3 separate regions of the Homo sapiens genome follow, and regions 1 and 3 are each linked to region 2. Evidence: promoter capture Hi-C in human tissues and cell types (Jung and others, 2019). All regions are on one chromosome and are shown on one strand. The core of a region is centred on a gene start or on the middle of the fragment in contact, and the rest is flanking DNA. Distances in the headings are between cores, read along the strand shown. Region 1 overlaps AFF1 (ALF transcription elongation factor 1). Region 2 holds the start of PTPN13 (protein tyrosine phosphatase non-receptor type 13). Region 3 overlaps AFF1 (ALF transcription elongation factor 1).

Region 1 (2,784 bases), core at 285-2,784, 420 kb before region 2:
ATGATTCCACTATGTGAAATGCCCAGAAAAGGCATATTTACAGAGACAGAAAGTAGGTTATGGTGGTGGGGCTGGGGACCGGGATTAACTGTAAATGGGCAGGAGGGATCTTACCAGGTATGGGATAAAATGTTCTAAAACTGGTCGCTCCATTCAGTAAAGTAACTAAACATTACTGAGTTGTCACTTGACATGAGTGAATTTTATGATATATAAAATAGACTTCAATAAAATCACTTTTTTTTTTTTTTTGAGACAGAGTCTGACTCTGTCACCCAGGCTGGAGTGCAGTGGCGCAATCTCCGCTCACTGCAAGCTCCGCCCTCCCAGGTTTATGCCATTCTCCTGCCTCAGTCTCCCGAGTAGCTGGGACTACAGGCGCCCGCCACCACGTCTGGCTAATTTTTTTGTATTTTCAGTAGAGACGGGGTTTCACTGTGTTAGTCAGGATGGTCTTGATCTCCTGACCTCGAATAAAATCACTTTTACAAAAACTTGGGCTGGGAAGAAATACCCATAAAATGAGATATAACAAAAGATATAAAAGATCTGGGTGACAAGGAACGTACCTCGATTCAATTTAACTATTCCCCTCTTCCCTCTTTCCCCACAAAAGGTCATTTACACCAAGCTACCAAAAGATCGCCCAGGCTGGAGTGCAACGGCATGATCTTGGCTAACTGCAACCTCCACCTCCCGAGTTCAAGCAATTCTCCTGCCTCAGCCTCCCGAGTAGCTGGGATTACAGGCACCTGCCACTACGCCCAGCTAATGTTTGTATTTTTAGTAGAGACGAGGTTTCACCATGTTGACCAGGCTGCTCTCAAACTCCTGACCTCAGGTGATCCGCCTGCCTGGGCCTCCCAGAGTGCTGGGATTACAGGCATGAGCGACCACGCCCGACTTCTTCATTCTTTAAAACACTCTAAGATCATGGATAATACCAATACTTTAAGGATGTCAACACAGAATACGAGTGACCTCAGAGAGAAAACGAAGTTTTATGCTAGGCTTATCATAAACTGTCAAGAATTTTTATAAAGCCTACAAATTTAAACTCAGAATTAAGTAAACCTAATGATTTTTACTTTACCCTTAAAGAAACATGACTGCTAAAATAAGAAAGAAATGAAGGTGTTTTTAAGAGGAGGCCCCTCCCTGCCCTAAGGGTAAGAACAAATAAAAAACTCACACCATCAGCAGTGACAGAATTATCAAATTCAATCTAACTGCCAACCTAGGACTTTTCATCTTCTGGGCATAGTTCCCATTTAAAAACAAAAACTAAGTTCCAGTGGCACTTTGAATTTTACTAAAACCAAGTCACAAGATAAGCAGACAATCTGAACAACATTAATAATTCTTTCCAATATTTTTAGGTTGCAAAACCTCAATTATGTATTAAGGTAATACACTAGGTTTCATTTTATCCTTTTGCTATTCTAATGCCAGTAAATGTTACTGCCTAATTTTTCCCCTGTGGTACAAAGTTTATTTTTTACACACTTTTTTAAATGGAGAGTTAGCACCGTCTTAACTCTAAAAGGAGGCTGGAGGGGAGAGGGAGACACAGACTGTAAATGAGTAACAGGAAAACATTCCTATAGCTGTAATTGCTAGGTCAAAATTACCTGAAAAAATATAAAAGGACAGAGCTTTAGCTTACTTTATACCAATGACTATCCTTTCAGCAAATAAACAACAACTAAAACCCAGCAATATTAACTCAATAACACGTTCTGTTTTCCTTTAAGGAAAAATTTTCTTAAACCATAATATCATGGACTCAAACTTTTATCAAAGCTCAAAGCTACCAACTTACTAAATAGGCCATCTTAGAAATGTCTAAGGTAGACAGTTTGTCAATTGAGACAAAATTTCTGCAAAGCTAGGGAGGAAACAGGTTTCATAGTTTTGTACAAAACAATGAGAACTAATTAATTTTATACCACTTTCCATAAATTCAAGTCCAGAGTAAATCAGATACACCTGTATTTTTAAAGTAACCAGAATGGGAGAAGTGGGGGAGAAGCAATTTAACAAGTTATCCAGACTTACATTATCCAGGATGAAAGTCACGTGATAATCTTGGGTCTGTCTTGACCACAAAAACATATGCACCAAATCAAAATTTAATTACACTGTATAACATAGTTTAAGTTGTGCTTCATATTTTATTGACTGCTTTGCTTCTGACAGGACAGTTTCCTGAAGGAAAGTTCCAAAAATTGAAAAGTTACAACACCCACATACCAAAGACTGTTTCCTGAATTTTGTTACAGGAAGTGACATCTGCTATAATTTTAACATTTACTTCCCAGTAGGAGTTCCATTTAAAATGTCTTGTTGAACATTATTTGTTCAGCAGTACCCCTAGGCAAAGCTTTTCTTAAAAAACAAAACTTTCATTTCGGTTTCACAAAGTTTGGACAAAACTGACCAATTCACACCATTTTAACTTTTCCCTGGGAACAAAAACAACTGCCACCTGGTAAACTGGGCTGTGTGTGGTAGAGAGAGAGATACTTAGCAGTTAACTCTAACTGGGGAGGGAGCCCACAACGCATGGAAAAAAGTAAATTAAATACCCTGCTCCTTGAGAAGAAACAATTCTTGGGAAGGTGCTGTATGATCAAACACTGGGAATTGCTTCTTGGTATCTTTTAATTTTTTTTTTAACACAGACGCATTTGGATATTTCAACCAACAGTTTGTAATATAAGGATAAATTTTATGGACGTAGATATCCACCTTCTCTACCAACCTCCAGTCTGTTTCAATAGG
Region 2 (3,059 bases), core at 471-2,970:
TATGTATGAATTTACTAACAAATGCTCCTAGTGATATTAAAACGAGAAATAATTTGTATATTGGCACCACTACAAGCAGCCAATGAGCATGAAGCAAGTTTTCACCTGGACCCTGCCAACACAGTCATGAAGACTTTAGGAAAATACCTAAGCTTGTTTCATAATACATGCACTTTTACTCCCCCCCCCATCCTTTAGTAAACTTTCTAGATATAAATTTTAAAATCTTAAAATTTATAATTAGTTACCAGCGCCCTTCATCCCACAGATCAGGTGTCCTACATTTTGTTCAGGTCCTGCCTTGAAAACAAACCCGATTGCCCCATTTTCTGCGAGGGAGCTCAGCTCCAGGCAGCTCCCTATGAAGTCACCGCGTTTGTTGTTTCAAAGATGCAATTAAATGAAAATGACACAAGGCTGTCGAACAGATTAGTTGGAAGTGTGCGGTGGTGTCGATCATATACGTGTATGGCCAATGAAAACTGTATTGCTGTAAATCTCTTAGTGATATTTCTCCCCATCCTCCTCTCTCCATTATATTCACAACAGAAGGAAATTAAACTTTGTAAGAATTTTCTTGACTTTGGTTTAACTTTAGCTTCCCAGCTGTCTGCTCTTACAGTATCACGTAATGAGCAAAGCGGTGGGGCTAGGGGGCCGGAGGGTAGAGTGTTAACTTTAGCAAGCAGAAGAAAAGCAATAAAAGACCTTGCATCAGACAGTGTCTCTCCCTCTGCCCCCTCTTCCTCTGCTTCCCCGCCATCCCACCCCCTTCTCGAGCCCTTACACACACATTCTTCTGGGCGGCCTCTAACCACACCATCTCCACAATCATTTGCAGAAATTAGAAACAGACTCCGGGAGCCCTTCCCTTAAGCACGCACAGAGCGGAGCTGTGCAAGCACGACGGGGCAATGTCACTCCCTATTACCCCACAATCTCTTACTCCCCCTGTGGGTTTCATTCCCGAGAATCCGGCTTTCTTCCGCAGAGGAGATGGATCTACCTAATTAGCAATGGAGTTTCATCTCATTCTTCCCCACTCCAGTCACCCCACCCCCACTCTAACGTACAAAAACACCCACCACCAAAACCAAAGAAAAGTTCCTTCTACCAGGGCAACCGAGGAGTTGGGTTTAGGGACTGGAGCGAAAGCAGAGAGAGGAGGAAGAGAACGAGCGCAATGTACTTTGTTTTGCACTTCTGCACATGCAGCGCAGAGCCCAGGGCGGCTCTCGTCCTTACCGGCTGGTCCCGAGACCGGGTCCTGCTACTGGAGCGCCGGGCGAGGGCTGCAGGGACGCGGCGTCGGGGCGGGCCGCCGGCAGCCGCCGCGGGCGCCGAGAGCCACCACCACTTCTCCCACAAGCGGCTGCGGGCGTGGGCTGAAGGAGCTGTAGAAGGAGCCTGGGGAGGGGGAGAAGAGGAGCAGCATCTCCTCCTCCTCCTCCTCGCCTCGGAAACGCTCCCCAGCGGCGATCCCGGCCGACTGCCTGACCCCCGAGCGCTCAACGCACCCCCGCCGCCCTACTGTGCTCGACGCCTCTCCAAGAGCTTCGCCAAAACCTTCTGGCGCGGGCGGCTCAACTCCTGTAGGCGACTCTGACCGCTGCCGAGGCGGACCGGGGAGCTACGGAGCACGGCTCGCCAGCACGACGGTCTCCAGGGGCCGTGAGCATGGTGTGTCACCCTCGCCTCAGCGTGGCCGCTGGAGCTACTCGCACCACTGGGGCTCCACCTCGGGCAGCCGCGCCGGCTCCGCCCCCCCGGTCCTGTCACTCAACCATTCCCCGGCACTGGGAGGACCGCAGATCTCCCACCCCGAGCTCCCCTCGACCTCATTGGCCCGCCTGGCATCCAGCTCCACCTCCTCCCTAGGGACGAGGTCGCCAGGGAGACCAGCGCCCCGGTTGCCATGACAACCAGTGCCTTGGGCCTGGCTTTTCGCGTTCTTCGGACTAGCCAGAGGCTCAGGTTGGTGACCGAGCGGCAGAGTTCCTAGCGCCTGCAGTGTGGTGAACTCCAACTTTTAGGCCAAGTTGAAAATGCAGCCGACGACCCCCACACTTCTAACTTCAGAATCAAAACTATGACCCTAGGGAGTGAGGAGGAGAGTGAAAAATGCGTAAGTGCTGGCTCCTCCCTTACTCTTCGCTGCCTCTCAGCCTTGTTTCTATATTCTCACGGGGCGCTTTGGTCTTTGAAAGGAAGAGGAGAATGGGGGAGAGGAAGAGCATGGCTTTGCCAGCTCCTTGCAGCAATATAGCAACTTAGAAATGGCGGGGTCAACGAAAAAAGCCCGGTGAGTTTTCCCACGGTTGTAAAGCTATCTTCAAAAGTGTGGTGACAGCACAACGCCAAATGCCCTAGGGAAAACTGAAATTCTCATATTTTTGAAAAAAGTTTGTAAATACTTGCCTTGTTATTTTATCTATGAGACTAAAATAATCCCGAAGTTTGAAAATTTAAGGAAAAGGTTTAACATAGTCGATAACCTCCCACTTTTCTATATACACTGAAATTTGGCCAAGGTATATCCAGACAGCTGTACCCCTCCTTGCTGCAAGCCGAAATATTTGAGTTTCAATAGTTAAACAAGAGAGTCTTGCTGAATTCATGAACAAATAATATCCTGTGATTTGAGTTTTGAAAGTTTTGGGTTATTCTCAGAGGTATAAGGTAAACTGGTCCACTCTGGAAAGGGTACCTGAAGATAAATTTAGTCTGAGACCCTTAATGTTGAGCCCTAGGTAAATCTGAATTTCATGGCTGGCTCCAAAGTGGAGAGATCTGAGGCTTATTTGGCTTCCCCAAAAAAAGTCAAAGCAGCAATCCTAGGTTCCCTAGCCCCTGAGGCTGCCATACATGTATGATGAATGAGGGAATTAATAGTAATGATTTATCTTTGGCGAGCACTTGAGTTTTCATTATATCATTTACTAAATGAATAACTATGATAGATATCTTCAGTCAAATATGCCTTACAAGTATGCATTGAATGTGATTACTCATAGGGCTAAACACAACGGAAAATACACAGCAGGATTTTAAGCTAAGTC
Region 3 (2,863 bases), core at 210-2,709, 490 kb before region 2:
AAAAGTTTGCATAGTATGAGATCATTTTATGTTCCATCTACCTGAGACTCACATCTTCACTCTTCTCGCCACCCTAATTAGAGACACTTAAACTACAAGACAGATCTTTTGGATTTGTTTACAGGGAAAGATCTACAAGGACAGGCTGCCTCGTCTCATAAAGTGCAACTTGGCACCTCCAAGCATGCCACTGGAAGGAGGTTTTCCAAAAGGGGAGCAGTTAAACCGTTACATCCTAATCCCCTAATCCCCTTCTTTTACAGAGATGGGGTCTTGCTATGGTGCCCAGGCTGGCCTGGGCTCAAGTCATCCTCCTACCTCAGCCTTCAGAGAGTAGCTGGAACTACAGGTGTGTGACACTGCACCTGGCTCTTAACCCCTTTCCTAAAATCCACTCTCCCAATAGGGTCTCCAGCCAAATACTGCTACTCCTACTAAAAGGAGCCAGACTCTCCCTTTAACACCATGGTCAAAGAATAAACAATTGGTCCTGGCCAGCTCTCTCTAAGCCACAACTGAGATAAGGCTGAAGACATTCAATGTACAACGTCCTTAAAGAACACAAAATGACAAAAAGCAACAATAAACATTTCTATGATAGTTGCATGAATCAAGAAAATCTAGTTTGTAAGTCCTTCTCTGGCTAGCTCTTTCCTCAATGGTATAGACACTGACTTTAACATGACCACAAAACACTGCCTTTTCCCACCCTTGATATCTATTAATAGGTTCCTAGAGGGCACGAGCTCTCCCCTTCTGCCTATCTAGAGCCATCTCACACATCTGGCTTCCTGTATGTAGACCAACCTCCCAGCAGAGACCACACTTTCCTCCTGGGATATGGCCTTAACAAGCAGCCATATTTAATTTTTAAAAAAATGATAGCAGCTACTTATTGAATGCATTTTGTACTTCACGTTGCATTAAACTCTTTCTATGTTATTATCACCTCAATTTGGTACCATCAATTGTACGACGCACCATTATTAGCTTGGGAGGTAGGGGGACTACACTAAATGTACCCATCAACTGTAAGATACATCCCTATTACATAAACTTAAAAATGCCTGAGGGAATTCTGTATAAAGCTCTATTTAATTCTCACATCAACCTTTGTGGTAGGTATTATGCCAGTTTTTAAAACGAGGAGACATGCTTTTGGAGTCCACGATGAGGTATTTACAAATAAAATAATTTTAAAAATAAAACGAGGAGACTGAATCCTAGAGAAATTAAGTTGTCTATGCAAGGACACACAAAAGCTCTGAAGCAGCTGAGCTGGCTCAGAATACTGTTATACCAGTTTTCTAAAAACCTCAACACTGCTGCAAGAAACAAATATATTAGCATTTTAGGAGGGTGTGTGATTCCAGTTGTCCTATGCATAACCTAAAACATTTTTTCAAGAGCTACGTTTTTCCTTTGCTTCTACAAAGAAGCATTTTGGTATTCACATTTAACTGCCTCTTCCTACTACCAGTGCTTCGGACCAGAAAAGGCAGCAATGCTGGCCGTGGCCTGATTTCTCACTCCTCCTGGAATGACATTGTGTAACTGTAAGGAAACGCACTGATACCAAAATAAAATATGTGAGTGAATGTCTTCTAAGCATGACAGTTTGTTTTAATAAGCTAAAAAGAGCTGGCTGAAGAAACATGCCACTGAGACTGGGAGGCTCTTGCAATATTGTGTTTTAAGTCTCTCAAGTTTCAACAGAGCGGCATTTTTATAACAATGCTATTCTCAAAAAGGCTTACTTATCACTAACCAGGAAATAGAGAGAGCACAAAGGCAATGTGCTGACGAGGGAAGCCAAAAGATCTTGGATTCTAGATCTGGCTCTGCTGAAGACTGGCGCTGAATCTTGGATAAGATTCATCCTCTTTGGGACTATTTCCTCATTGTGAGAAGGTATAGTATTACCAAACCTAACCACTTCTCAGGGTTGGTATGAAGGTCAAATATGTTTTCATATTAAAACATATCTAATAAAACACACTTTCAAAACCATCAAAAGGCACTGATATATGGAATAACAGGCGGTGCCAACATTATCAAGGCATTCTTTAACAGCATGACAGCTTAAAAAAAAAATCCCAATAGGTTATCTATCCAAAGTTTAATTTTTAAGAGAGTAAAATAAATGTCCAAGCTATTTTTCTTCAAATGTGTCACCACCTTTTGGATTACTGTTCAGTCTTCACTATTTGCTGCTCATCTACCCCCAACTCGCTAGTTAGATAAGTCACACTTTTCTTGCCCCGATCTGGAGCCCTCTTCTCTCTTCCATCTGTGTCAGGGATAATTCCTACTAAAGCTTCAGGTTGCAGATGAAAGACATCTTTTGGAAAACATCCCTGATGCTCCCTTACTCCCAAAACTGTCCAGGTTCTCTTGCAGATGCTCCCGTAACTATCCGTACATTCTCTGTTATTGCATCCTCTCTACTCCCTCTAGATAATATGTTCCATGGAAGTTAGGGCCAGAACCCTCACTGAATCACAGGGTGCCAGCCACACAGAGGCAACCCCATAAACAATGGCTGGCATGTTTTCAGTCCCGGAACTCAGAATTTGAAACTAAGTTTCTCTTATGGCTTTAGACACTTAAGAAGATGCAGGCTGCCTGAATTATAAAGCAACACCTTAATTAACAAACTAAACTACATGTAAATAAACATAAAAGAGACAAAAAGATAATTGTTTTGCATTGTTTTCTCCCTGGAAACATTACAACTACTGAGAAACTACTTTTCACACGTAGATTGGCAAACAGCCACAAGATTAACAATACTCCATCTATGAGATAGACATGGGGAAATAGGCACTCAAATCCCATGATTGGTAGGAGGATTAAGTGCTAC

Evidence for each region. Contacts are between HindIII fragments. The study calls those that stand out against the background at their distance.
Region 1: a fragment that was not itself captured here is called in contact with the fragment with the promoter of PTPN13 in region 2 in 1 of the 25 tissues and cell types used here (hippocampus).
Region 3: a fragment that was not itself captured here is called in contact with the fragment with the promoter of PTPN13 in region 2 in 1 of the 25 tissues and cell types used here (hippocampus).

What each region holds. Positions count from the first base shown.
Region 1 is chr4:87,014,020-87,016,803 of GRCh38, reverse strand. All of the region lies in intron 2 of AFF1 (ALF transcription elongation factor 1), which reads right to left. Among named protein-coding and RNA genes, the nearest start is that of AFF1, 80 kb to the right of the region's middle. The HindIII fragment of the contact is 6,307 bases long and covers 1-2,784 here.
Region 2 is chr4:86,592,976-86,596,034 of GRCh38, reverse strand. It overlaps PTPN13 (protein tyrosine phosphatase non-receptor type 13), which reads right to left and starts at 1,720. Exons shown (of 48, transcript NM_080683.3): 1 at 1,246-1,720. It also overlaps a transcript of MAPK10 not described here. RefSeq lists an enhancer at 1,483-2,069. The HindIII fragment of the contact is 10,688 bases long and covers 1-3,059 here.
Region 3 is chr4:87,078,059-87,080,921 of GRCh38, reverse strand. The region is part of intron 4 of AFF1 (ALF transcription elongation factor 1); the gene reads right to left. Among named protein-coding and RNA genes, the nearest start is that of KLHL8, 140 kb to the left of the region's middle. The HindIII fragment of the contact is 9,071 bases long and covers 1-2,863 here.